Regions from separate parts of the Homo sapiens genome. Here all the other regions are linked to region 1. The links are contacts of gene promoters, found by promoter capture Hi-C in human tissues and cell types (Jung and others, 2019). All regions are on one chromosome and are shown on one strand. Each heading gives the region's core, a stretch centred on a gene start or on the middle of the fragment in contact. The rest is flanking DNA. Distances are from core to core; before and after follow the strand shown.

Region 1 (3,391 bases), core at 892-3,391:
CAGGATATCGAGACCATCCTGGCTAACACAGTGAAACCCCGTCTCTACTAAAAAGAACCCGGGAGGCGGGGCCTGCAGTGAGCCAAGATGGCGCCACCGCACTCCAGCCTGGGCAACAGAGCAAGACTCCGTCTCCAAAAGAAAAAAAAAAAAAAGAAAAAGAAAAAAGAAACAAATACAAGAAAATCAACCAGAAAACATATTCCACTGTTAAAGGCTTTAACAAGTCAGCCCCAGCAAACTTTGAAGACAAGAAAGCAAACCCCTGTGTTATCTATTCTCCAAGAGTAGAACAATGACTTTGGCTTCCCACTGTGCCTTAAATCTGGGCACTGGTGCCTTTACATGCCAAAATATGTAAGGTGATTTTAATAGACGTGCTGAAAGAGAAATTCCATAAACAAAATGGGGTCGTTAAAAGCAAATTACTGTCCCCTACCACTTCAAAGCAGCTACACCACCTGAGGGTGAGGCAGCTCAAAGGTACCAAGCTGGGCTGACTTCAAGTAATTTGATTGCATCTGAAAAGTTTTGTTTCCTTTATCAAACTTCATTTTGATCTTAAAAGATTGATTCACAAACCATTAAAAGGAAACATAAATTGTACTACATAAAAAAATTAAAACAGCAAAAAAAAAAATTGCAAAATTAGAATACAAGCCCTGAACGAGATCGGTTGTATGATAGTTACTTTCTTTAATTTAGAGCTTATAGAAATCAAAATTAAAAGATTAAACAGGAAAAATAAAAATTTTAAAACTCTGAGGGGCAAGGCATATGAAGGCAGTTATTCAAGGAAATACAATCAAAACAGCAATGGTTTTCACAAATGAGTACTTCCAACAATGTTAAGTCTAATGCTCAGGCGGGCTGGTTGATAGGGAAACAGGCACTCTGAAGAATGGAGAGTCCAAACTTGTACAACCTTTTTTTTCTTTAGAGCAATTTGGCAGTAACTGTCCATTTTAAGCACATTTCTGTCGACCCAGCAATCCTACCTCGAAGAATTTATCCCTAGTACACAAGTAAAAGTATGAACGCGTCTGCTGCCAACACTGATGCAATAAAGGAGCACCGCTATGTGTCAAGCACTTTTCTAAATTTAGCTGGAAAATATGGTGTGAACAAAGTCCTTGTTCTCATCGACAAAGCAAAAGCCAAAAAACAGAAACAACCAAAAGGCGCTGGAAATAATCCAGTTCATTGCCATGACCTGATTAAATAAATAACACAGCCATATGGAATGTTACCTAACTTCCAAAGTAATTTGCTATGTTTGTACATGTTAATATGAGAAAAAGTCTTCAAAGATTTCACAGCATGATCCCATTTGTGCAATCGTAAAACAAGTTACTTCGTACTGACTCCAGGATTTTTTGCAGTTTTTAAAAACACTGCATTAACACTTCCAAATTCGAACTCCACCCACCCCCCATCCCGGTTCTAACAATCACACCAAACATCCACCAGTGATCAGCGAAGATGCTCTTCTGCTTTCTCCTTTCCAGAAAGGTTATCGTGCCCAGCAATAGCTCCCTAACCCACACACACCAAACCTCATGCTTATGTAAGCACTCGGCACCGGAGCGGAGAGTGAGAGCTCTCGCTTGGACTCCCGGCTCTTGCCGCAGATCCTGACCGCCTAGAGGGAGGAGTGGGATCACGCTTTCAGCCTCGCTTCCAAGTAAAAGAGTGGCCAACCTTTCTACGGAAAGGCGGGGGACGGGAGTACTACATAATAAAGATAAATGAGAGTCTCACAAAACCCAAGGGCAGGAATGAGAACCCAGGACACGAAGAAAACCCAACAAGCATCCGCCTCTGCTTCCCTCGCAGGGTGGCCCTCTCCCCGGGCCTTCCTGTGTGAGGCAAAGAAGGCTGGACAGGGCCGCTTCGCGCAGCCAGCTGCCGACACCCGGGCCGGGGAAGCCAGCTCATCTCATTCTTCGGGGAGGGAGACCTGGTGCGCTACCTCTCGGAGAAGCTTTTCACCAGCAGCCACACGATGAGCGGCAGGTTCTCGCGCTCGTTGTAGGTAGGTAAAAGCACCGAATATTTGTTCTGTCGTGGACTGCGCACTTCCAGCTCCCGCCGAGACCTGCGAGGACTACGACTGACTTCCAAGGAGGCCATGGCGGAACTGAGCCAGATGCCGGAAGCGGAATTACGTAATGTGGCGCGGAAAAGGACGGGTCGGACCGTACCAAATTCGGAAGCGGGGGATGACCTGTGTGATTGATCGCTAGTTCTTCTAGGGCCATTGCGTGGTTCAATTAGAAATATTCTGGATTTATACATCTTTGAAGTTTAATCTGAAGGTTTCTTCAGGAAGTAAATATCTATTCATCACCTTTTCCCAAGCTCCATAAAGTTTTTTAGTTTATCCCAGTCGCTAGGAGACAGAAGACGGAAGCGGAAATGCCTTTCACGACAACTTCCGGAAGAGGTCGCCATGGCTTCCCGGGAGGAGGTACTCGCCTTACAAGCTGAAGTTGCCCAACGTGAGGAGGAATTGAATTCGCTGAAGCAGAAGCTGGCGTCGGCTCTTTTGGCTGAGCAGGAACCGCAGCCAGAACGGCTGGTTCCGGTGTCGCCGCTGCCGCCGAAGGCCGCTCTGTCCCGAGATGAGATTCTGCGCTATAGCCGGCAGCTAGTGCTGCCCGAGCTGGGCGTGCACGGACAGCTGCGCCTGGGGACCGCGTGCGTGCTAATCGTGGGCTGCGGTGGGCTCGGCTGTCCACTAGCGCAGTACTTGGCAGCGGCCGGCGTGGGCCGCCTTGGCCTTGTGGACTATGACGTGGTAGAGATGAGCAACCTGGCCCGCCAAGTGCTGCATGGCGAGGCACTGGCTGGCCAGGCCAAGGCCTTTTCGGCCGCCGCCTCGCTGCGCCGCCTCAATTCGGCAGTGGAATGCGTGCCGTACACTCAGGCCCTTACGCCAGCCACTGCCCTAGACCTGGTCCGCCGATATGATGTGGTGGCTGACTGCTCGGACAACGTGCCCACTCGCTACCTGGTTAATGACGCATGTGTGCTGGCGGGTCGGCCCCTCGTGTCTGCCAGTGCCTTGCGCTTCGAGGGCCAAATCACAGTCTACCATTATGACGGTGGCCCTTGCTATCGCTGCATATTCCCCCAACCACCCCCAGCGGAGACAGTGACCAACTGCGCGGACGGCGGGGTGCTCGGTGTCGTTACCGGGGTCCTGGGCTGCCTGCAGGCCTTGGAAGTGCTGAAAATCGCTGCGGGTCTGGGCCCCTCTTACAGTGGCAGCTTGTTGCTCTTTGATGCCCTGAGAGGGCATTTCCGCTCTATTCGGCTGCGGAGCCGCAGGCTCGACTGTGCAGCTTGCGGGGAACGGCCCACTGTGACTGATCTGCTGGACTATGAA
Region 2 (3,377 bases), core at 778-3,277, 540 kb after region 1:
TGGGACTAGCACCCAGGTTACTAACAAGTCCCAACAAGCTTCCCAAAGTCTAACTTCTACCAAACCAGGCACCCTCCGAGGCTCTGTCTCTGCCCAAGGCAAGCGCAGCAATGTGTCTGCCTCACGACTTCAACAACTTCGGGTCCAAAGTCAAGGTGCACTTGGGCCAATCATTCTTCTCCCTCCCGCAGCAAGAAAAATAACAATCCACCAAAAGATAAATGCAAAAAGAAGATGCACGTGAGAACGAGTCCACGTGGATGTGTAAGCACTTGCTCTAGAGACATAGTCACGGGGTTGCTTTAGGGCCAGTGCATGAACTTAATATGATCCCATTTTTGCACAAGACTTTTCTGCATTTTTCACCCCAATATTACTTGGCTGAAACCCCCGGTCCAGCCCCAGACCACCCTTGTTCAATCCCTGCAAACAAGGCCACATTTGGGTACTCATGGCTTATTCCACGCCTCCCCCCATGATAGACGTTCGCCTGAGCCCAGCCTCTGCAGCCACCGCCTTCCACCAAAGCAGATCCTTCCCCCTCCTTTGCTCACGGAGGAGTGAGGGGGAACTGCTGAGAGGAGGGGCAGATTGGCCAGGGAGGGGGCGATTGAGAACAGGAAGAAGATGGGGTGAGATCTGAGAGGCACGCTTTGGACACAATAAACAAGCCTGCTGCCTTGTTCAGAAAGGGACCCGGGACCCCCAATCCCACCAGAGCCCTAAAAGCATTAGTTCAAAGTTAAAGTTAGATACACGCAAAGCTGCAGCCCCCGGGGGAACTCAGAGCTCAAAAACAATACTCTCTTTGACTCAAAAACCACAAGGGAACACCCACGGCATACTTCTTGATTAAAAAAGGAAAGTGAAAAATAAGGTTTTCTTTTTTTCCTTCTTAATCATCATAAAACTAACTTGTGCCTATTCCATCAAGTCACGACTTCTGTTGGCCTCAAGCGAGCCCAATTCATGTTGGCCACAGACACGAGGGGCCGGGAAGCTTGGGCATGTCCTAGTGAACTGAACCGGTCCTTCTGAATGGTTGTCATTTCCTTCCTCTGCTTCCTTTAGCACAGGAAAGCCACCAAGGAGCCGCCTACGCCAGCACATCCATCACCCAGACTCCCAGGGCACTGTTCATCTGAGAGGCCAGACACAGCGGGGCTCACCAAAGCCTCAAAGCAGCAGCAACAACCTCTCAACCGCTGTTCTTGAGATAGATGAAGTACCTACTATGTGACAGGCACTGTGCTTGGGACTGGGGATGAAGCAACGATGAAGGAGATGAAAGATGAATGTGTGGCAGGGGGGTGGATGAGTAGGTGGGTGAAGGGGTTGGAAGGGAGGAGGAAAGGAAGAGAGAACATATATCAGGCTATGGAAAAAAAGAAACAAACAGAGGCCAGGCATGGTGGCTCACGCCTGTAATCCCAGCACTTTGGGAGGCCGAGGCAGGCAGATCACTTGAGGCCAGATCACTGGCCAACATGGCGAAACCCCATCCTTACTAAAAATACAAAAATTAGCCAGGCATGGTGGCATGCACCTGTAGTCCCAGCTGCTCAGGAGGCTGAGGCATGAGAATTGTTTGAACCCAGGGGGTGGAGCTTGCAGTGAGCCAAGATTGAGCCACTGCATTCCAGCCTAGGCAACAGAGTGAGACTTCATCTCAAAACAAACACCTAAGTAGAAAGACAGATGATGGCAGGAGAGAAAGGGGATCTATTTTGGTAGGAGAATCAGGGGAAGCTGCTTTGAGGAGGTGACAATTGAGCTGACAGCTGAATGAAGCAGAGAAAGTAGCCATGTGGATAGCTGGGAGGAGTGAAAGGCACGTGCAAAGGCCCTGAGGCAGGAGCCTACCTGGAGTGTTTGAGGAATAGCACAGAGGCCATTAGCAGGTGGGAATGGAGTGAGGGAGTGAGTGAGTGAGGAAGAGAGGCAGGCAGGGACCGGGTGACACGGCCTGGTCCACGGTGAGGAGCACAAGGCTACTCTGCATCTATACTCCGGGAGGGGAGACACAGGAGGGCTCAGAATGGGGGTGGTGTAGACCAAGGTACACTCTGAACAGATCCTCTGGCAGCTGTGTGGGGAGCAGATGAATGAAGGGTGCAAGTGGAGGCAGGGAAACCAGTTAGGAGGCTGTCACCCAGACAAGAGATGATGCTAGCTTGGCCCCAGGTGACAGAGGGGAGGAGGTAAGAAATGGTTGAGCACCCTACCCCGAGCCCAGCTCCCACACAGATGCACAGAACTGTGAGGAAGGCCAACAGGCCAACTGGATGCCCATAAAAGATCACAAGGCAAAGAGAAGCAGATGAGAAAGAGAAAGAGATTCAAAATCTAAAACGCGGCCGGGCACGGTGGCTCATGCCTATAATCCCAGCATTTTCGGAAGCCAAGGTGGGTGGATCACTTGAGGCCAGGAGTTCAAGATCAGCCTGACCAACATGATGAAACCCGTCTCTACCAAAAATACAAAAATTAGCCAGGCGTGGTGGCTAATACCAGCTGCTTTGGAGGCTGAGGCAGGAGAATCGCTTGAATCCGGAGGCAGATGTTGCAGTGAGCCGAGATCGCACCACTGCACTCCAGCCTGGATGACAGAGCAAGACTCCATCTTAAAAAAAAAAAAAGAAAGAAAGAAAGAAAGAAAAAGAAATCTAAAACACTTCTGCTTCCTACCTGTAAAAGCTTTACCTCAGGCAAGTCACATTTCTCTGGGGCTCAGTTTTTTCATTTGTAAGATAGTAGAACCCAATTCATGGGGTTACAATGGTTAATGCAAGTCTTCTCTTAATGTCTGGCCTATTGTACATGCTCAATAAGTAATACTTTTCTAACCTCTGCCTTTAATGATCTGAGTCGTGGCTCTGCCAATTTAGTTGCTGTATTATCTTTATATTAAAATTTCATATAATCTCTCTGAACCTCTATTTGGCCACCTGAAAACTGATCATGACAGTACCTACCCTCAAGTACTCAGTATGAGATTGAATGAGACAACTTTAGTTTAGCAAAAGGTCTGGCACGTAGGAATCCCTCAATAAAATGATAACCAGAGCCCTCAGTAAAATGGTAGCTGAAACCCTCAGTAAAATGATACATGAATCAGACACACCAGTCATCCAACTAGATGATTTCTAAGTCTCCTTCTAGCTCAATTATCCCCAAACTCTTTAAAAAAAATTTTTAATAGAAAAAATGACAGCTTAACAGCTTCAAGTCCCTGAATGAATCAACCCTGGAGTTGCAAGTTAAGGCAACCCAAGTTGAAGAGAAGTTGGAACTCCCACCTCAAAGTGAACAAAACTAAACATAGGCACTTCTACTTGGGTGATACCTATTACTCTGAGTCATAGAATTAAGTAAGT
Region 3 (3,826 bases), core at 541-3,040, 640 kb after region 1:
AAGATTTGACTTTTTTAACATTATGCAATGTTTGGGTGAAAAAAGGGGGGTGGGGAGAGGGAGATCAGAAAAAAATTCATCTTTTTCCCAGAGTTTAGCAGAGCTATTTCTAGCTTTTAATGATACATTTCACCATCACTTCATGGGTAGTTTTGAGAGGCGCGAAGGCGGGACCGGTTCTGTTATGTAACCCATTTAAAGTAGGAAATTAGCAAGTCCTGAATGAATTCTGTCACTGTGCTCCCACTTCTGGAAAATTTGGAGCGACTACAGTTCTATTTTGAGGTGAGCAAATCCATCATTTATAGACCTCCTCACAAATACCACAGGGCTTCATGTCACCCTGAAAAGTTTCATAACAAAAACACTAAAAGTACTTGGGGTGTTGGTACATTTCGTCTCAAAACCTTATTAGACTGAACAGTGAATTGGCAAAGCTTCCTACTTGCCAATTATTCAAAAATGCAAATATCCAAGAGCAAATAAATATTCATCTCTCACCCTCCCTGCCTTTTTTTTTTCCTTTTTTTTTTTTTTAACTAAGTCCAGCAAAATATTCTGGTCAACAACATGAAAAGAAATGTCTGTTTTTCACGGAGCCTCTGGCCATGAAATAAATTCTGAAGCTATGAAAGCACAGTCTTGAAACTCAGGGCAGTTGGGCACGTGGGGTCCGGCTGGTTGTGGAAAACAGGAAACAGCAATGTCTTTCAGTCCTCAAGTTCCCCCTAGCGGCTCCGGCGGAGGAGTGTCCGCACATGGACGGAAGTTCACTGCAGGCAAATGCAGAGGCTTAAGGTCGTGCAGGGATAGCACACGTTTAAGGGAAAGCATGGTCGGTCCCTACCTTTGAAACCACATACCTTCCTTTTGCTGCTGTCATGAGATAACACAACTAAGTTACAATTATCTTTCTAATCTATATACTGAGGATGGCCCTTTCCATTGAGAACCAAAAAGAGGGAACCAGCAGCTCACACTGCAGACAGCCACTAATTACACCATTTGGTATAGTATTTGGTATAGTAGGCGGAGGCATAACTTGCTTCCTGAGACACACGAGCTTATACCTCCGGGCCCTTTTACAAATACAGACAGACAAATGGTACAGCTGACACGTGCCAATTAAATTAGGGTTTCTCTGGCTGGGCGTATGGGCTCATGCCTGTAATCCCAGCACTTTGGGAGGCTGAGGCAGGCAGATCACCTGAGGCCTGGAGTTCGAGACCAGCCTGGCCAACATGGTGAAACCCCGTCTCTACTAAAGATACAAAACTTAACCGGGCGTGGTGGCAGGCCCAGCTACTCAGAAGGCTGAGGCAGGAGAATCGCCTGAACCTGGGAGGCGGAGGTTGCAGTGAGCCAAGATTGCACCACTGCATTGCAGCCTAGATAACAGGGCAAGACTCCACCTCGAAAAAAAATAATTAGGGTTTCTCAATGTTGGCACTTTTGACACTTTGGGCTCTGTTGTGGGGGCCACCCTGTGAATCACAGGGTGTTCGGCAGCATCTCTTGCTTGTAGCACTCCTCTTCCCCGAGTTGTAACAACTGAAAAGGTCTTCATACCGCCACGTGTCCCCCAAGGGACAAAAATCACCCAATTGATTTCAACTACTTCCTACACAAAAGCTTTTTTTGTTTTGTTTTGTTTTGAGACGGAGTCTTGCTCTGTTGCCCAGGCAGGAGTGCAGTGGCACAATCACGACTCACTGCAGCCTCGACCTCCGAGGCTCAGGTGATTGTTCCGCCTCAGCTTCCCAAGTCGCTGGGACCACAGGCTTGAGCCAGTACACCCAGCTCGTTTTCTTGTATTTTTTGTACATGAGTTTCACCACGTTACCCAGGCTGGTCTCAAACTCTGGGCTCAAGCAATCCTCCTGCCTTGGTCTCCCAAAGCTGGGATTACAGACATGAGCCACTGCGCCGGGCCTTAAAAATTTTTTCTGCCTAAAACTTAACTGACTGTTCCTATATGTTCCATCCCTCGATAAAAAAAAAAAAAAAAGATTCCAGTCATCGAGGACCGTGTATAGAAATACAATATGAAGCTTATGGTTTTCATCTTATTTTCCATTTATATCTATCACCTTTTGAAATTCTGACACGTCTGGGATGGACAATAGTACAAAATAATAAATAACATGCATTGATTTGGGGTTTTTTTTGCCAAAATCAAAATAATTTTCTGAACTGGAAAGAGTTTTCTTTACATTTCATGTACCATGAAATAAAGAAAAAATAGGAGCGTTATAATAAAAAGTCCTCATTTTGATACCAGAATTCATGTTTCTGTACAAATTAAAATAATCCCCCAAGGCAGAACGTACACAAGCTTTATTGGGCAACAGCAACGAGCCACGCTGGCAAACAATGAAAGTAGAGTCGCTCAGAAACACGAAAGATCATATGTGTGTCATCACAGCATCGAGAATTTAAATCATCTGGAAGTTCCTGCTAAATTAAAGCATACTGTGCCAGAGCTCCCCTCTAATCAAAAAACGCTGTCCTGGTGAAAATTTGCAATGAGGATTACAGAGAGAGAGATCAACCAATGAGGAAATCACAGACTCTTACATGAGTTTACAGTTAACCCCACTGCAACAAAATAATAAATTAGCCATAATTTGTTTTTTTTGCAAATACCATGCCCCCCACCTGACCCCACAAACACAACAGTCACTGACATGGCCCAGCTATATTAACAGACTGCGCCTCAAACCATGCTGTGGCGGAGAAGACAGATTCACGGGTAATGCCGCTTTGGCCTGAGAAGATGCTTCGGAGCTCCAGGTGGAGGAGCTGCTCACGCTGCAGGATGCTTTGCAGGTTCATTCAAAACCAAATTTTTTTCCAAGAAGAACTGGACATAATTCATGGGAATATTTTAAGTATATATAAGTGGCAAAAAAGCTGTACATTAAAAGAAGGGGGAGAAATAAAATGTGTTGTATTTACAAAGCTCTTTGTATATTTTTTTAAATGAAAACAAAGCTGGGAGTGATAGAATTTTAATGCAATGAAAACCAAATAATTCTTCAAAAAACTTTAGATGACATCATTCTCTCGCTCTTTCACACACACACACACCCCCCACACACTTCAAACATACAGAAAAGGTTAAAGATAAAAATAGCTGATAGGTGTTTAAGTAGGATGGAGCAGAAGAATGTACATGTCCCATTTGCAATTTTGGCAAAGGTTTAAAATGCTGCCCTAAAGGCACGCACGCATGCCCAGCCTACCCCAGTAAAAACAAGACAAAGTATAAAAAGAAAAGTCTGGCGGGGGGTGGGGGAGGCATTAGCATATCAATTTCCAATGAGCACAAAATTCAAAATACATTAAAAAGTAGCATGGCTTACATTTTCAGCAGAGAAGAAACTGAGGAAATGTTCATAAAGAGACAATGATTTTTAAGATTTACTGTCACAAAAAAAAAAGGGTTTCACTTCAGGGGAGTGGAACTGGGATGGGAATTTTACAATGCTAGTTCCAGCACGTGGTCTAATGGCCCCAGGGGCTGGAAAAGGGAGGTCTGCTCCAACTTTAAGATGCGCCCTTGGGATGCCTTCCAAGCAGCTGGAGTTAGTGCCACCTGTCTCACCTGGCACCACAGGCAACACACATGTGCACACGCATGCTTTCAAAATGAGGATCAAAACTGTCCCACATAAGAAATTACTCAAGATGGAAAAACTAGTCTGGTGATTTTCTTAGAGAAAAAAAAAGAGAGACAAAAAGGAAGGGGTGGGGGGAGGGGAAGAAACCAAATAGATCCTGCTTCCCCCTGTCACACAACCATCATCAAAAGACATATGAACAA

Evidence for each region. Contacts are between HindIII fragments. The study calls those that stand out against the background at their distance.
Region 2: a contact is called between a fragment that was not itself captured here and the fragment with the promoter of DPM1 in region 1, in 1 of the 25 tissues and cell types used here (heart right ventricle).
Region 3: a fragment that was not itself captured here is called in contact with the fragment with the promoter of DPM1 in region 1 in 2 of the 25 tissues and cell types used here (dorsolateral prefrontal cortex and mesendoderm cells).

The regions. Positions count from the first base shown.
Region 1 is chr20:50,956,391-50,959,781 of GRCh38, forward strand. It overlaps DPM1 (dolichyl-phosphate mannosyltransferase subunit 1, catalytic), which reads right to left and starts at 2,142. Exons shown (of 9, transcript NM_003859.3): 1 at 1,973-2,142. The coding sequence starts at 2,133. MOCS3 (molybdenum cofactor synthesis 3) reads left to right here and starts at 2,428. Exons shown (of 1, transcript NM_014484.5): 1 at 2,428-3,391. The coding sequence starts at 2,453. RefSeq lists enhancers at 1,899-2,388, 2,601-3,211. The HindIII fragment of the contact is 10,279 bases long and covers 1-3,391 here.
Region 2 is chr20:51,497,116-51,500,492 of GRCh38, forward strand. The region is part of intron 3 of NFATC2 (nuclear factor of activated T cells 2); the gene reads right to left. Among named protein-coding and RNA genes, the nearest start is that of NFATC2, 44 kb to the right of the region's middle. RefSeq lists an enhancer at 457-586. The HindIII fragment of the contact is 3,016 bases long and covers 520-3,377 here.
Region 3 is chr20:51,594,456-51,598,281 of GRCh38, forward strand. It overlaps ATP9A (ATPase phospholipid transporting 9A (putative)), which reads right to left. Exons shown (of 28, transcript NM_006045.3): 28 at 2,059-3,826. Among named protein-coding and RNA genes, the nearest start is that of NFATC2, 54 kb to the left of the region's middle. The HindIII fragment of the contact is 3,944 bases long and covers 1-3,762 here.